Regions from separate parts of the Homo sapiens genome. Here all the other regions are linked to region 1. The links are contacts of gene promoters, found by promoter capture Hi-C in blood cells and fetal thymus (Javierre and others, 2016). All regions are on one chromosome and are shown on one strand. Each heading gives the region's core, a stretch centred on a gene start or on the middle of the fragment in contact. The rest is flanking DNA. Distances are from core to core; before and after follow the strand shown. Region 1 holds the start of IFNE (interferon epsilon). Region 2 has its middle 3.9 kb from the start of MTAP. Region 3 has its middle 20 kb from the start of MTAP. Region 4 overlaps LOC107987026 (a long non-coding RNA gene).

Region 1 (3,213 bases), core at 501-3,000:
AGATTGAACCTCTTTTAATGTAGTTTTTTTTCTCTGCAAACTGTTCATGTCCTTTCACCATATTTCTATTGTGTCTCCTGTAATGTAAATATTCACTGTGTAATAATATTTTCAAATCTTAAAATGCAAATTATTCCCAATATTTCTCATTGTCTCTAGCAATTTCTGGCAAATAAGCAAATCATTGCAATGGAGTTCTATGTTAAGGAAAGTATTTTTACATTAGTGGCATATTTTATTGTATCTACCCAGCCAGCCTGTATGAAAATACACCCATTTGAAGAATCAACCATATTAATGAATTTATTTTGACATACAAACAATTTAAAATGGATAGAATATATAAAGCCACATTACAAAATAAAAACAATTGTGGTCAATATGCACAATCTTAAAACACAGATAAATATATATATACACAAAATCAAAGCAATGTGATTGTACTATAAATTGTATTACCACTCTATGAAGAATCATGTCTGGAGAAGTCCTCTAGTCCCTCCACCTACCTCGGGCTTCTAAACTCTGTAGTAAGCTCTTGCTTCATGTCGTTCAAGGGTCTTCCTTGTTTGCTCAGTTTTTCTGTGAGACTGAACACAAAGAACAGACATCGGCTGATTTCTACTTGGACAATGGCCCAGGCACAGGTGCTGTAGTCCTGGTTTTCCAGGTAATCATGGATCCTTCGGAAGTACATTTTAACTTGTAATCTAAGGTTATCACTACCCAAAGTACCACTTAGCTTCTCTGCTTCCAGTCCCATGAGTGCTTCTAGGTATTCTAGCTGTTGATGAAGTTGAATGAGGAATTTCTCCGTGTGGTTTTCCTCCCAACCATCCAGAGAAATATTTGCCCTGAAGAGGCTGAAGATCTGCTGAAGCATCTCATGGAGAATGGCCAGAGTGTGTCCTTTTTGGTACTGCTGAGGACTCAAAGACTTCTGAGGAAGCAGAAAGTTTTTCCTGTGTGGTAGACACTGCTGAATTGACAAGGTTTGCAACTTATTCAAGAGTTTTAAACTTTCTTGATTCACTTGTCTTTGCTGGAAGATAATCAGTTTCAAATCTAGAGAGAAGATAGTGGTAGAGGCCAGCAGCACCAACACAGTTCCAAAGAAGTGCTTGATAATCATGGTGAAGGTCAAATATGCTACTTATCCCTGCATAGACTTAGGGAAATTCCAGCTCTAGTGAATGTTTGCCTTTCATGCATCTCAGATTATTTTGGAGAGTGTTCTCTTTTGTTGCTTTCGTTTTCTAATGTCATTTCTCCAAGTTTACACATTAGATTTTCAGGTTCCCTTTTCATGGTGTTCAGAGTACATTTTCTCCATTTCCCTATTGTGTTGGCTATTTTGAGGAAGTACCAAAATAACTTATTCATTGTATGCTTTCCTTGAGGCAATTACAGACTAGTCATCCAACATAATCTTTTATTATTCTATTCATTATATACAAAGTTTCACTGAACACAATGTGCTTTCTAAATATTTAGTCAAGCTTATTAAAGTTCTTTTATTGAGATTACGTTTTTTTCAGTAATAGTCTTTCATGGAGTAAAACTTACCAAAGGCTTATCAGCACCTATAAAGAATTCAGGGGCAAAACTTAAAATACCTACAAACTACTAAATTTAAAACCTCAATTAGAACTGTAAATTGTCACAAATGCTTGAGCAAATAATTAATTTTAAAACATATATCAGCAATCTTAAATTATTTTATATCTTATCCTATCAGTTTAATATCTAAGATTCTAGCCTATAGAAGCAATGCAAAAAAATTAGCAAAAGAAGAGTGTTATAATATTATTGCAAAGCAGAATATTAGAAACAACCTATAGGTTCAACGACAGGTGAATGATTACATATATGTTGGTACAGCCATATAATTAAATGATATATATCCATTATAGATGACAAAATTATATGTGAAGAGAGATTGGGGGCATTTGGTTAGCGTATATTCCCTAGAATAGTGATAGCTCTGGTAAACTAATGTGAACATCTCTACATTAACAATGTCCTTTGAATTACAAATACCCAGTTCCATATTCTAAGTTCCTCTTGAATAAGCCCCCAATATACCTTTCCAATCTTATCCCACTGTTGCTCTAAATATAGTGTGAAGGAATCTGAACTCCAGATAAAGTAAGTGATTTAGTATTCCCTTAATACAGCTAGCACTTGTGTGTGTGTGTGTTTATTGATGATGCTTTCTCTGAAACATCAACTGTTGCCTCCTTTACCTCAAGAACCTTTCTGTGCAAGGACTAAAGACTACTTGTCCTTTAAGGCCCAGATCTCCCCCAAGGAGCCATAATCTTCTGGATCCCCACAACACTTTGTACCTACCTTATTTAAGACACCTTTCTTGTTCTGTCTTATACTTGACTATGTACTTACATGATTAAAAGTCTCTTCAGAGTGTGAAATAAACACTGATTACTGATTTCTTTGCTGTCTATACAACTATAGTAGTTGCTTAATAAATATGTGTTGACTTGGAATAAATTAATATGTTCTACACAAAGTAATACAAGATGTTGAGTCTTATCTTTAATCATTTCTCTGCAGGCAGCTGGGTGAATCCCTAAATGTCAAAAACAGGCACTCTGTAAACATGTATGGTCTCATTATATACCAGCTCAGCTGTATGTTTGGTCACTTAGTCTAGTATTAATAAGTTGAAATAAACTCAGTCAGCATGCTCCACAGAGGGTCTTTTCCCTCCCTATCTGAGAGAGAGAGAGAGAGAGAGAGAGAGAGAGAAAGAGAAAGAGAGAGAAAAGACATATGATAATATATAATATACGAAAGGAATAACACTTGTTTCATAACATTATGCTCAATCTATCTGGAAAGTAGAATTTTGACTAGTCTCAAAAAATCTTTAAATATTTAATGCTGAGCTTCGGGAAAACAATATAAAAATAAATTAAGAATATCAGAAGTTACTCCATCTAATAACAACGAGCTCTGATCTATAAGGCTTTCTCATCATTTTCATTCAATTGACAAAAATGATCTAAATGTTGTTTAATTTCCAAATGATCAGGGATTTTCCAGATGCCTTTCTGTTACTGATTTCATATTTGAATCTGTTGTGGTTAAAGAATGTAGTTTAAATTTATTGAGACTTATTTTATGGCTTAGAATATGGTTTATCTTGGTGACAGTTCCTTGTGAACTTGAAATAATAATGTTCTACTTTTG
Region 2 (3,213 bases), core at 401-2,900, 320 kb after region 1:
TTTCTTCATGGCCATATTCGCATATCTTTTGGTTCTTACCCTTCACACAGAAAGGCAGAGGGAAGGTTAGAGAAATATGTTTAGGTTTTACGGCTGGCTTTAGGGAAAAGATCTTCTGGTTTCTATTATCCACCTTGGGGAAGAAGGATTCTAGTTTCTATGGTAGCATCAGGGGGATAATGGGCGTGAAAGACAGGCAGGAGAAGGTCAGAGAAAAACTTTCGCTTTTGAGGCTGCTTCTGAGGACTTCCTTTTTGGGGTGTTGTTATCTGAATCTCAACAGTGGAAAAAATAATAATTAATCAAGAGTTTAGACTTTGCAATTAGGACAGATTCAGGACTGAATCTCAATTACTTTAGTTATATAAATTTGAGAAGACTTCTTAAATGCTCTGAGCCTCATGTTCCTCATGCAATGATAGTGATAATAACACCAACACTTGTCCTTTCTCAAACATCACATCCTACCTAGAATTTAATTATCTCAATTTAAGGCTTAATACCTGTAAAATTCATAAACCCCTGGGTGAGGTAACATTTTAAGGTGATTTTGGCAACTTAACAGGTTTGATAGGTTTGATTGACATTTTGATGGGCTAGAGAGAGGGAAGTCCTGAAGATTCCAAACGGACAAGGAAGCTTTGGGGAGAGGCAAATAAGCAGAAAAGATGAAGTTACAGCAATTCAACTTCTCTCTCTCTCCTCCTCTGTAAAATGGAAATTACATTAATAGCAATGACATTAATATCTGTGAGGATTAAATGAAGAATATGTGGCTCTTAATAAATATTAGCTGTTTTGTTGTTGCTCTTGAAGATGCTCAGAAGACAAATATGACTTTGTTCCCAATTTGTTTTTAGGATTGTATGTACAGACAACATATGGATTTGCCAGAGAAGAAAAGCAATGCTTTTAGACTTATTTCCTGCCTTAAGTTTTTAAAGTGGAATAAAGAGCAGTGGGTCACATAAGAGCTCATTATATGGGTCTTTCATCATAGCTTTAGATCCTGACACGCTAAGCAGAGATTATGTTGCATCTGTGATATTAAAATACATCTGGGTATCTATTACTTTTTGGCCCTTTTCTATACAAAGCACAGAAGCTGAGAATCATGTCTCTTCAGATCAAGATTGAACATACTCTCTCTTTCACTGAGGGAGGTATAGGGTTCAGGGCTTAATCTTACACTTTGCTTATCCTATAACAGAAATAATAATACCTATTATTATTTATAATAGGTATGTGAAGATCCTGGGAGTCCAGGGTAGATGGCCATTCTGTTAACCTGAATATGCTTTTAATGTGCAGCATTAATCTAAGAAAAGTGAAAAAATGGTGAGATTTTACTTCAAAAAATCCAAATTATATGCAACTTAAGTCATCTTCAGTAGAGTTTCAGAAATGATAGGGGAGATACAATTTGAAGTGAACTTTGAAGACAAGACAAGGTGATTTGCAATGAAGGATATTTCTAGGGTAAAAGGGACTTTGAATAGAAGGAACGAATAAAGAAAACTGAAGGAGAACTTGATTCTATTGCAACAAGAAACATATGGCTAATTCCAACTATCTGGAGCATACCAACTTTAAAGCAGACTGTCAAAACTGACCCTACTTAACTCATTTTAAAGCATGGGGTTCTTCCCTCAACCAAAAACACAGATGCCAGGTTACACTTTATAACTGGACTCTCCACTTTCATTAAAGGTCATTATAAGGAATTGCCACCTAAAATGTGATGTAAATATTTTTTGAGAAACCTAGTATATCACTTGCAATTCCCTCTATAAAGTACCTGCAATAAATGCATTTTTAATATTAGATTTCAGTAATATTTTCTTCACTTGTGACATACTACTTATTTTGTTTTATCACTATGATAATGGGAGAATGGAACACTTCTCTTTGTTTTTTGTTCTTATTTCCTTAAAGTTTTAGAGTAATAGTCACATACTAACCTATAAGAAATTTAGAAAGGTTCAATTAGGCCTTCTATGACAAAAATATCTAAGTCTCTAGTTACTAAAATGTTAATGTTTATGTTGTATCATGGTCTATACTGCAGAGTCAGGGTAAAGACACATAGCTGTATTTTTTAGATCAATAATTTGTTCAGTTATTTACAATCAAGAGTGTTAAGAGAACTTGGATTGCAGACAAATCTCTTATACATTTATCCAATTATATTCAATGTTTTTTCAGAAGGGTACCTTAGGACTGGCCTGGTACATACTTGCATATCTTTTGCTTCTTAATAAACACTAGCCACTATTTTCTTTTCAGTACATTTTTTTTCCTTCTTGGGCAGGATAAAGAGAAGTTGATTATTCTGATAATTGCCTGTGGAGAAGTTTCTTTGGATACAATTTTATTAAGGGCATTGAGTCTCTGAGTTTAACTTTTTTCTTCCCAATGACCACACTGTGCACAACGATGATGTTGTGGATTTTGAACCTGAATTTATACCAGTTCAGACATCTTTGGCTTCTTCATGCTGGCATAGGCTTGCCTGGCTGAGAATCTGAAGATGCAATAATTTTTAAAATGTATTACTGTCATTATTATAATTAGTTTACTTATTGTTCCCCCAGATATTTTTTCAACAATGTTCTGCTAAATCTAGAGTGGCTGCTTGCTAATAGAACTTTAGCTTTTTCACAAAGCTTCCAATGTGGGAATCTAATCCATTGTCAAAAGTAGTGGCCAAAATGTCCCTACTCATTGTGGCTGTGATACAGGTGTATTGTAAAAAGATGTGATTCACACACCATTGGGGATCTCTAAGCACACCTCCATGTTATTTAGAATTTTTATTTTGGCCCAAATATCTACAAGGTAGTGGGGAGTTATGTGAGTTTCTTAGGCCATGACAACTTGCCAGCTTTAATACCTTCAGATGAGGATGGGTTACCAGCCAGCTTGGGCCCATTTTGTAGTACCCATCCAGGACAGACATACTGGTCAGGGGCAGAAATATAACAATTCAGTGGGAAAGCTGATATGGTTGGCTGAGGTGATACATTTCATGCATTTGTGTGAATACTTCCTCCTGAAGATTTGATGATTCTGGAATGGTTTGGAGACGACTTCAAAAATAACATGTTTAGTAAAAGGGAACTGTAGGACACTGAAGAACCACTGCTCAAGACCCAACATAGTCAGCTACTGGTGATAACCATTTCAGTACTTTGTTGGCTAGGACCTAGAAGT
Region 3 (3,213 bases), core at 281-2,780, 300 kb after region 1:
CAACATGGCACATGTATACATATGTAACAAACCTGCACGTTGTGCACATGTACCCTAGAACTTAAAGTATAATTTAAAAAGGAGCTACGTTCTTAATATATTCATTTCAAAATTGATAATAGTAGTAGCTAATATTTGCTAAGCACTTACGATGTGTCAAGCACTGTTCTAAGTACTTTGTATATTTAATCTAATATAATCCTGAAACAACCTCATTCGTTAGCTACTATTAATATCTCTATGTTATAGGTGAGGAAACTGAAGTGCAAAGAAGCTTAATAAGTTTTTTCAAGTTCACTCAGCTACAAAAGGGAATAGGTGGAATTCAAACCTATGCAATGTGACCTCATGAAAATAGAACTATAGATTATTTTTTTCATGCTGTCCTATATTATGATTGAAATATTGCTCAAATTATTTTTAAAAGAAGGAATTTTCTGTAATCTTTTCCACTCCAAAAAAGCTAAATGTGTAGAAAACATATCTCTGTAGTGCTTTACCAAATTCTGTAGTATTTCTCTAACTCTTTGAGGATTACTTAGTCTAAAAAGCACCTGGGAAAACAAGGATCAGCACTCCACATCCTAGTATCATTCCTAATAAACCAGTTTCACCTATACCTTGATTAAAGAGAGTTAATGCCACCAGCTTCCAGGAACTATCAGCTCTACCGTGCCTGTTGGGACAAAGATTATTATCATATGTTCTCATTTACCTGGTGAACACACTGCACTCTACTGTAGGTGAACACTCCTACACTAAAGAAATAACTACAATCAAATTATAGAAAATCATACTTTCCTTGATTGCAGAGACATAGGTTAGAAAAAAATGTGTAACAACCTTTTTTTACCTTTTCATAAATAAAATCCTGCAGGGAATTCTCTAACTTGAACATTGTTAACAGATGACATACCAATCTCTTTTGCTTTCACTCAAGAACAAAGGTAAATCTGAGTGTCATCGTGTGTATACACTCAGTTTAGATTCCTTTTAGAGAAATAATATACTGGTTTGTCTTGCATAGTTTGGGGCCGCTGGATTGTGGTGACATTTTCAGTAAACCCCAAATGCTGATTAATCTCTCCAAACTAGTCCTCTTATCTAGCTCATTCCTAAGAATCAATATTCTTTAAAAAAATTTTCCAATATATAATCATTTAAATATTTTAGGGGCTTTTCCTATAAGTCTTCAGCGATAATCAAAGAGACCTGAGACAGAAGAAGAAAACAACAAATACACAGAAACTAATTTCCACCTGTGACAACTCCATTGATTTATCTTTGGAATAGAAACTGCTTTCATTCTCTTTGGAATGTGCTGATTTTTTTTTTCTTAGATTGTATCTCAGTGACCTGGGTTAAGTACAAGATACTCAGCAAGTTGTTCAGTAGGTAAAAGGAAGTCACTAATTTATCCCCTCTACCTATTGCCAAGCAAATTCACTTAGGGGTGAGGCTCCAGAAATGCTTTCTTCATGACTGACCAGCAGTTAGATGACATGGCTTCTGGGACAGAATGACGGCGTTAGCAGAGTCAGGGCTAAACTTTGTTAGTGCTTCTCACCTTTGCATAAGTCATTTCAACCAACAGTCTTGTTTTCACTTCCTGTCCAGGTGAAGAGAAGGGCAATGATTAAAACCTACTCCCTGGCATATTTGTAAAACATTTTGAATTTCTCCTAATGGGATTTTTTTTTTCTAGAAAGTGCAAAACACTAGATTACATTAACCATCTTTAATGCTACGCTGAGACAAATTATATAGATATAATTTATAAAGGAATAATTTTAATATATTAAGAGGCATTTCTATGTTGAAGGAGAAAATTTATGTATTTTATACATGACATTATATTTTATTTGATAATATATATAATATACATCTGCTAGTTGAGATTTCTCTTTTAAAAAAACTGTGTTACAAATTTATTTTTAAGAAAGTGGGTCTAATTGGAAATGGCATAAAGAAAGATTTCACTGGGACACAGGATGTTTTTGTAAATAAAGTATGATTCAGCATCAAATTTATAACAATTTAAACAAAAATTTAGGAAAGATTTCACAGGCCTCCAGCTGAAAGTTCTTTTTTTTAAATTCCAGTCAGCGTTTTTGGTTTTCCTTAAAGTGATCATGATTTGAAATGACTAGGAAGTACCTGCTGCCTTGCGTGGGAATAGAAATTTACTTCCTTAAACCTATACAGGGTTTGCTAGGATTTAATTTCTATGTAAGGCAGAGGTTAGAATATATTCACCTCTAATCAGTCTGTCCGGCTGTAAGATCCCTTTTCAGGAATTGTTTCTAGGACACACACACAAAAAATTGGTGGGGAAAACTACATTCTCATTTATTTCTTCCCTAACACTGGTTGTTTAAACCCACCCACAAATCAGAATTAAGTGCTTCTTCTCTGGGCCATAAACCTCCCACTTTGCTCCTTAAGTACACTCTCATGTCACTCTGCTTTGAATTAAAATTATTTGTTTTCAGGTTGACTTCCTCTAGTAGAGTATAAGCTCCTTAGAGGCCAAAATCTGTGTCTTATTCATTCAAGTGGACCCTACAGCTAGGGTGTCATATAATTTACTGTCCAATCTTGGACAATAGCTACAAGTGTACCTCTGGTCTCACACAGACTTGGTCCAGACTTGATTGTGATCTCATCTGTACAATGGGCATAATATGAGTAGACATCTTATATTACTTTGAGAAATAAATAAAATAATTCATAAAATATACTTAGCTCTATATCATGCCATTATATGTAGCAAGAATTTGGGGAGGAAAAGCTTGTTGAGTCCTTCAATTGAATCAAACCTCTTGCTTTTCTTCCAATTTTTAAGCTTTTCTTTCAACTCTTATTTCCCCTCTTATCTGAGCTTCAGATAACTTCGTTTTCTTTCTGTTTTTCTCTGGAATTGCTCTTAGGGCCTTGTGAGTTTTGTCCTTCTGTTTTCTTTTCTTTTCTTTTCTTTTGGCAGGAGGAGAGGGACATCTTTCAATTCATTCATTCAATGGGCATATGCAGAGGACTTCTTGTATGCTCAAGGTGGTAATGGAAATGTGCCAAAAAGCCTTTTTTTTTTTTTTTACTTTATTTCTTACTGTACCTCCATCTTTATCAATCTCTAATTTTTCCAATTCCTTCTCTAAGTATCTTGTTTTGAAGTCTGTATTTCCCATGTATGATAGTCTGGAATTTATACAACTC
Region 4 (3,213 bases), core at 240-2,739, 270 kb after region 1:
CTGAAGATACAGCAGTGGACAAAACACATAAAAATCCCTGCTCCCATGGAGCTTCATTCTAGGCAGAGAAGATAGAAAATAACAAATAAATAAGTTAAATACATAGTATGTTGGTAATGATAAATGCTGTGGGAAAATAGACAAGTGAGATAGAAAGGCAACACAAGAATTAAAAACAAAATAGTGGTATATGTTCTCATAAAATATGTACCCCAGAATGCATACATAAACCTGAACCCTTTAGAGACTATAATATTATGAGGCATTAATTTTTTTTGTTTTTTCCGAGTGGCTTTCAATCTGTAGCTGTATGTTAGCTATATGAAGGTGAGTATACATACATATTGTGAAAGCAAAAATTGCATCCGACAAAGTTAAGCAGCAAGGACAAATGCTATTCAAGACAATTACAATAGGAGAGAGAGGCCAGAAATCAGCCTGCTCAACTCCACTATAACAAGGGGTGGGAGGAACTTTAGGGACTGGTATGAGCTAGTGGAAGGGAACTAGAGAACACTGGAGGATGGGGGCAGGTTGATCACTGGGTTGTGTGAAGCACACTGAGTTTGCAAAATACTTTTCTCTGTGATTAGGTCATCTCTGCTGGCTAATTGGCACCCATTGAAGTTAGGCTCCTACTCTCCCTTAGAGACTGGTAGACAGGGGTGCTATTTTTCATGATGATTACATTTCAAAGGGTTGGCTCCCAGCAACTTGAGAAAGACTTCCCTGAGTAGTACAACAGGCAAGAGGCTTTTAAAAATATTTACATCTCAAAGGGGCAGAGAAAGGATTTACAATTACAATTTTTTCTTTTGTAAATGCTCTAGGAAAAAAAGAAGTCAGGGGCTCAGAATCTGAGAGAAGCCTGTCAAGTTTAGTCAAGCTGAGGGAAACATCAAGGCCTTCTTGATTAAAAGGTATACACTCACACACACTTGCTTCTAATTTATCTTAAAAATATATGCTCTGCTATCAGTGTTCTAAATGTTTTCTTTATTGTGCCATATTTATCTGACAGAACCTGAATAGTAAGCATTTTTAAAGTGTGCATGAACTGCATGAAAATCACCTTATATGACAAATGATGATATGACAAACAGCAAAAATAATTCTTTGTATATAATCCATCATTGCTAATAGGATATAGGCAAGTCAATGGAAGTATGATACAGGTGTTCAATAAATGTATTTGTGTTGATTGATTATTGAAGTTTGCTGGATTTCATGCTCCATGCATTTCTTCTTAAAGTATCAGAATATGTCTATTAAATTCTTTTATACATTTTAAGAGCTTCTGGGGAGTATGTCTGGATGTTCTTTAAAATGCTTTGTGACACTGCAGATGTCACATATGATTTTTTAAAAAATAATAGCCCTGAATATCCCCAGCAGTGCAGGAAGAAATTTGATAGTATTTACATAGAAGCCATCTTGGCGTCCATTTCTCTACCAAGTACAAGATCCACTTTTCAATTCAAACTCAGTCTGGAAGTTTTTCTTCCTTCCAAAGGGAACAGAATTAACAATTCCGCCTAGTTCTACTATTACGGAGATTGCAGACAGAACAGACTGAATGGAAGATAGCAGTCAGATGATGCCCAAGAGTGGCAAAAAACAGTAGATCCAGAGAGACAGAAAGGCAAATCATTCTGGAGGGGTCTTGAGGCCAACAGTGTGAGGGACCACCACCTTCCTTCAATACACTTCAAGATCTAAGTAAAATAATTCAATAACCAAGATTTCTTTTTTTTTGCTGTTGCTAACAAACAGGTATAAAAAGAAATGACCATTTTAATGAAGGTCAGTTGGGGACAGCAAGAATTATGGAGATAAATGGGCTATAGATAACAAAGGAAAAGAATCCCAAGTGAAACCAAACTGGACACACACTTGGCTAACTGTTGGAAAGGAAGGGTTAGAAATTTTGACAGATACCTACAATTATTTTATTTAGAGTTTATAAATAATTATGCTTAAGGTACGATAACTTCTATACAGTTTCCATCCCAATGTCCAGTTTCAATTATTTCAACTAAAACTCTTGTATTGTTCATAAAGTCTAGAGTATAGGAGGTCCCTTTAGGCATCAAAGATGAGAAGCCAAGTCAGAAAAATTCTAACTGACCATTATGCTCAAGATTCCAGTGCTGAGCAGGGCAGGGAAGATAAACAGAGCTGTTTAAGCAAGATTCCTGTCTAGGGTTGTTGCCATGACACAGTTTGGAAGAAGAAGGTCTATCAACAACTTATTTCCCCTGTGCTTCAATGAGTTAAAGCATTTTCTCACAAGAAATAAATGTGTAGTGTTTAAGGATCCTTGACAGAGCTCCTTGTAAACTGAGCTCTCAGAAGTTGTCACTGGAGACCCACCATTTATTTTCCAAACAAAGGTCAAGATTAAACTTGAGGGATTTACCCAAATCTCTAATACAAGAGGATTCAGTTAAGGCTAGAGTTCACATCCTTATGCCTAAACTTCACAAGAGAGAAAATCTTTCAGAGGCACTGGAGAGCAAGAGTGCCTGATTGATACACCCTTGTTATTCTTAATATTGCCCTCTAGCAGTTTTTGAAATGAAGTCTTATGAGGCAGTAAAACTCTCTTATGTATTTTTTTCTACTTTCATTTACTTCAACCCAGGATCATCATGTGACTGAGATGATCAGGTTCAAAAGAGAAGGGAAAATGTGGTATGGGTTTGTATTAGTCCATTCTCACACTGCTATAAAGAACTACATGATACTGGGTAATTTATGAAGAAAACAGGTTTAATTGACTCACAGTTCTGCAGGTTGTACAGGCAGCATGGTTGGGAGGCCTCAAGAAACCTACAATCATGGCGGAAGGGTGAAGGGGAAGCAAGTATGTGCTACATGGAGGAGTAGGAGAGAGAGCAGGAAAGGGGAAGTGCTACATAGTTTTAAACAAACGGGTCTTATGAGAACTCACTCGCTATCATGATAACAGCAAGGAGGAAATCCATCCCCATGATCCAATCACCTCCCACCAGGTCCCTCCCCAAACACTGGGAATTACAATTCGACATGAGATCTGGGTGGGGATATAGAGCCAAGCCATATCAGGGTTTATATTTCATTTTGTCTATCTGGCTTGATTGACCATTGTAGCAGTGATGGTATGTATATTGGAAAATGCACCAGGCAGGCGTAAGTAGCCTCTGGTTTCTTGGGATTTTAGTAAAGTTATTA

The links. Contacts are between HindIII fragments. The CHiCAGO score rates a contact against its expected background, and 5 or more counts as called.
Region 2: a fragment that was not itself captured here is called in contact with the fragment with the promoter of IFNE in region 1 in 10 of 17 cell types (endothelial precursors, naive CD8 T cells, naive CD4 T cells and 7 more); the score reaches 13.4 in endothelial precursors.
Region 3: a fragment that was not itself captured here is called in contact with the fragment with the promoter of IFNE in region 1 in 10 of 17 cell types (naive CD4 T cells, endothelial precursors, total CD4 T cells and 7 more); the score reaches 11.8 in naive CD4 T cells.
Region 4: a contact is called between a fragment that was not itself captured here and the fragment with the promoter of IFNE in region 1, in 4 of 17 cell types (non-activated CD4 T cells, naive CD8 T cells, naive CD4 T cells and 1 more). The highest score is 6.2, in non-activated CD4 T cells.

What each region holds. Positions count from the first base shown.
Region 1 is chr9:21,480,563-21,483,775 of GRCh38, forward strand. IFNE (interferon epsilon) reads right to left here and starts at 1,751. Exons shown (of 1, transcript NM_176891.5): 1 at 277-1,751. The coding sequence starts at 1,132. The coding sequence ends at 506. The region is part of intron 1 of MIR31HG (MIR31 host gene); the gene reads right to left. The HindIII fragment of the contact is 2,296 bases long and covers 1,498-3,213 here.
Region 2 is chr9:21,797,096-21,800,308 of GRCh38, forward strand. No RefSeq gene overlaps it. Among named protein-coding and RNA genes, the nearest start is that of MTAP, 3.9 kb to the right of the region's middle. The HindIII fragment of the contact is 2,027 bases long and covers 638-2,664 here.
Region 3 is chr9:21,780,904-21,784,116 of GRCh38, forward strand. No RefSeq gene overlaps it. Among named protein-coding and RNA genes, the nearest start is that of MTAP, 20 kb to the right of the region's middle. The HindIII fragment of the contact is 2,517 bases long and covers 273-2,789 here.
Region 4 is chr9:21,751,560-21,754,772 of GRCh38, forward strand. The region is part of intron 1 of LOC107987026 (a long non-coding RNA gene); the gene reads right to left. Among named protein-coding and RNA genes, the nearest start is that of MTAP, 49 kb to the right of the region's middle. The HindIII fragment of the contact is 4,259 bases long and covers 1-3,213 here.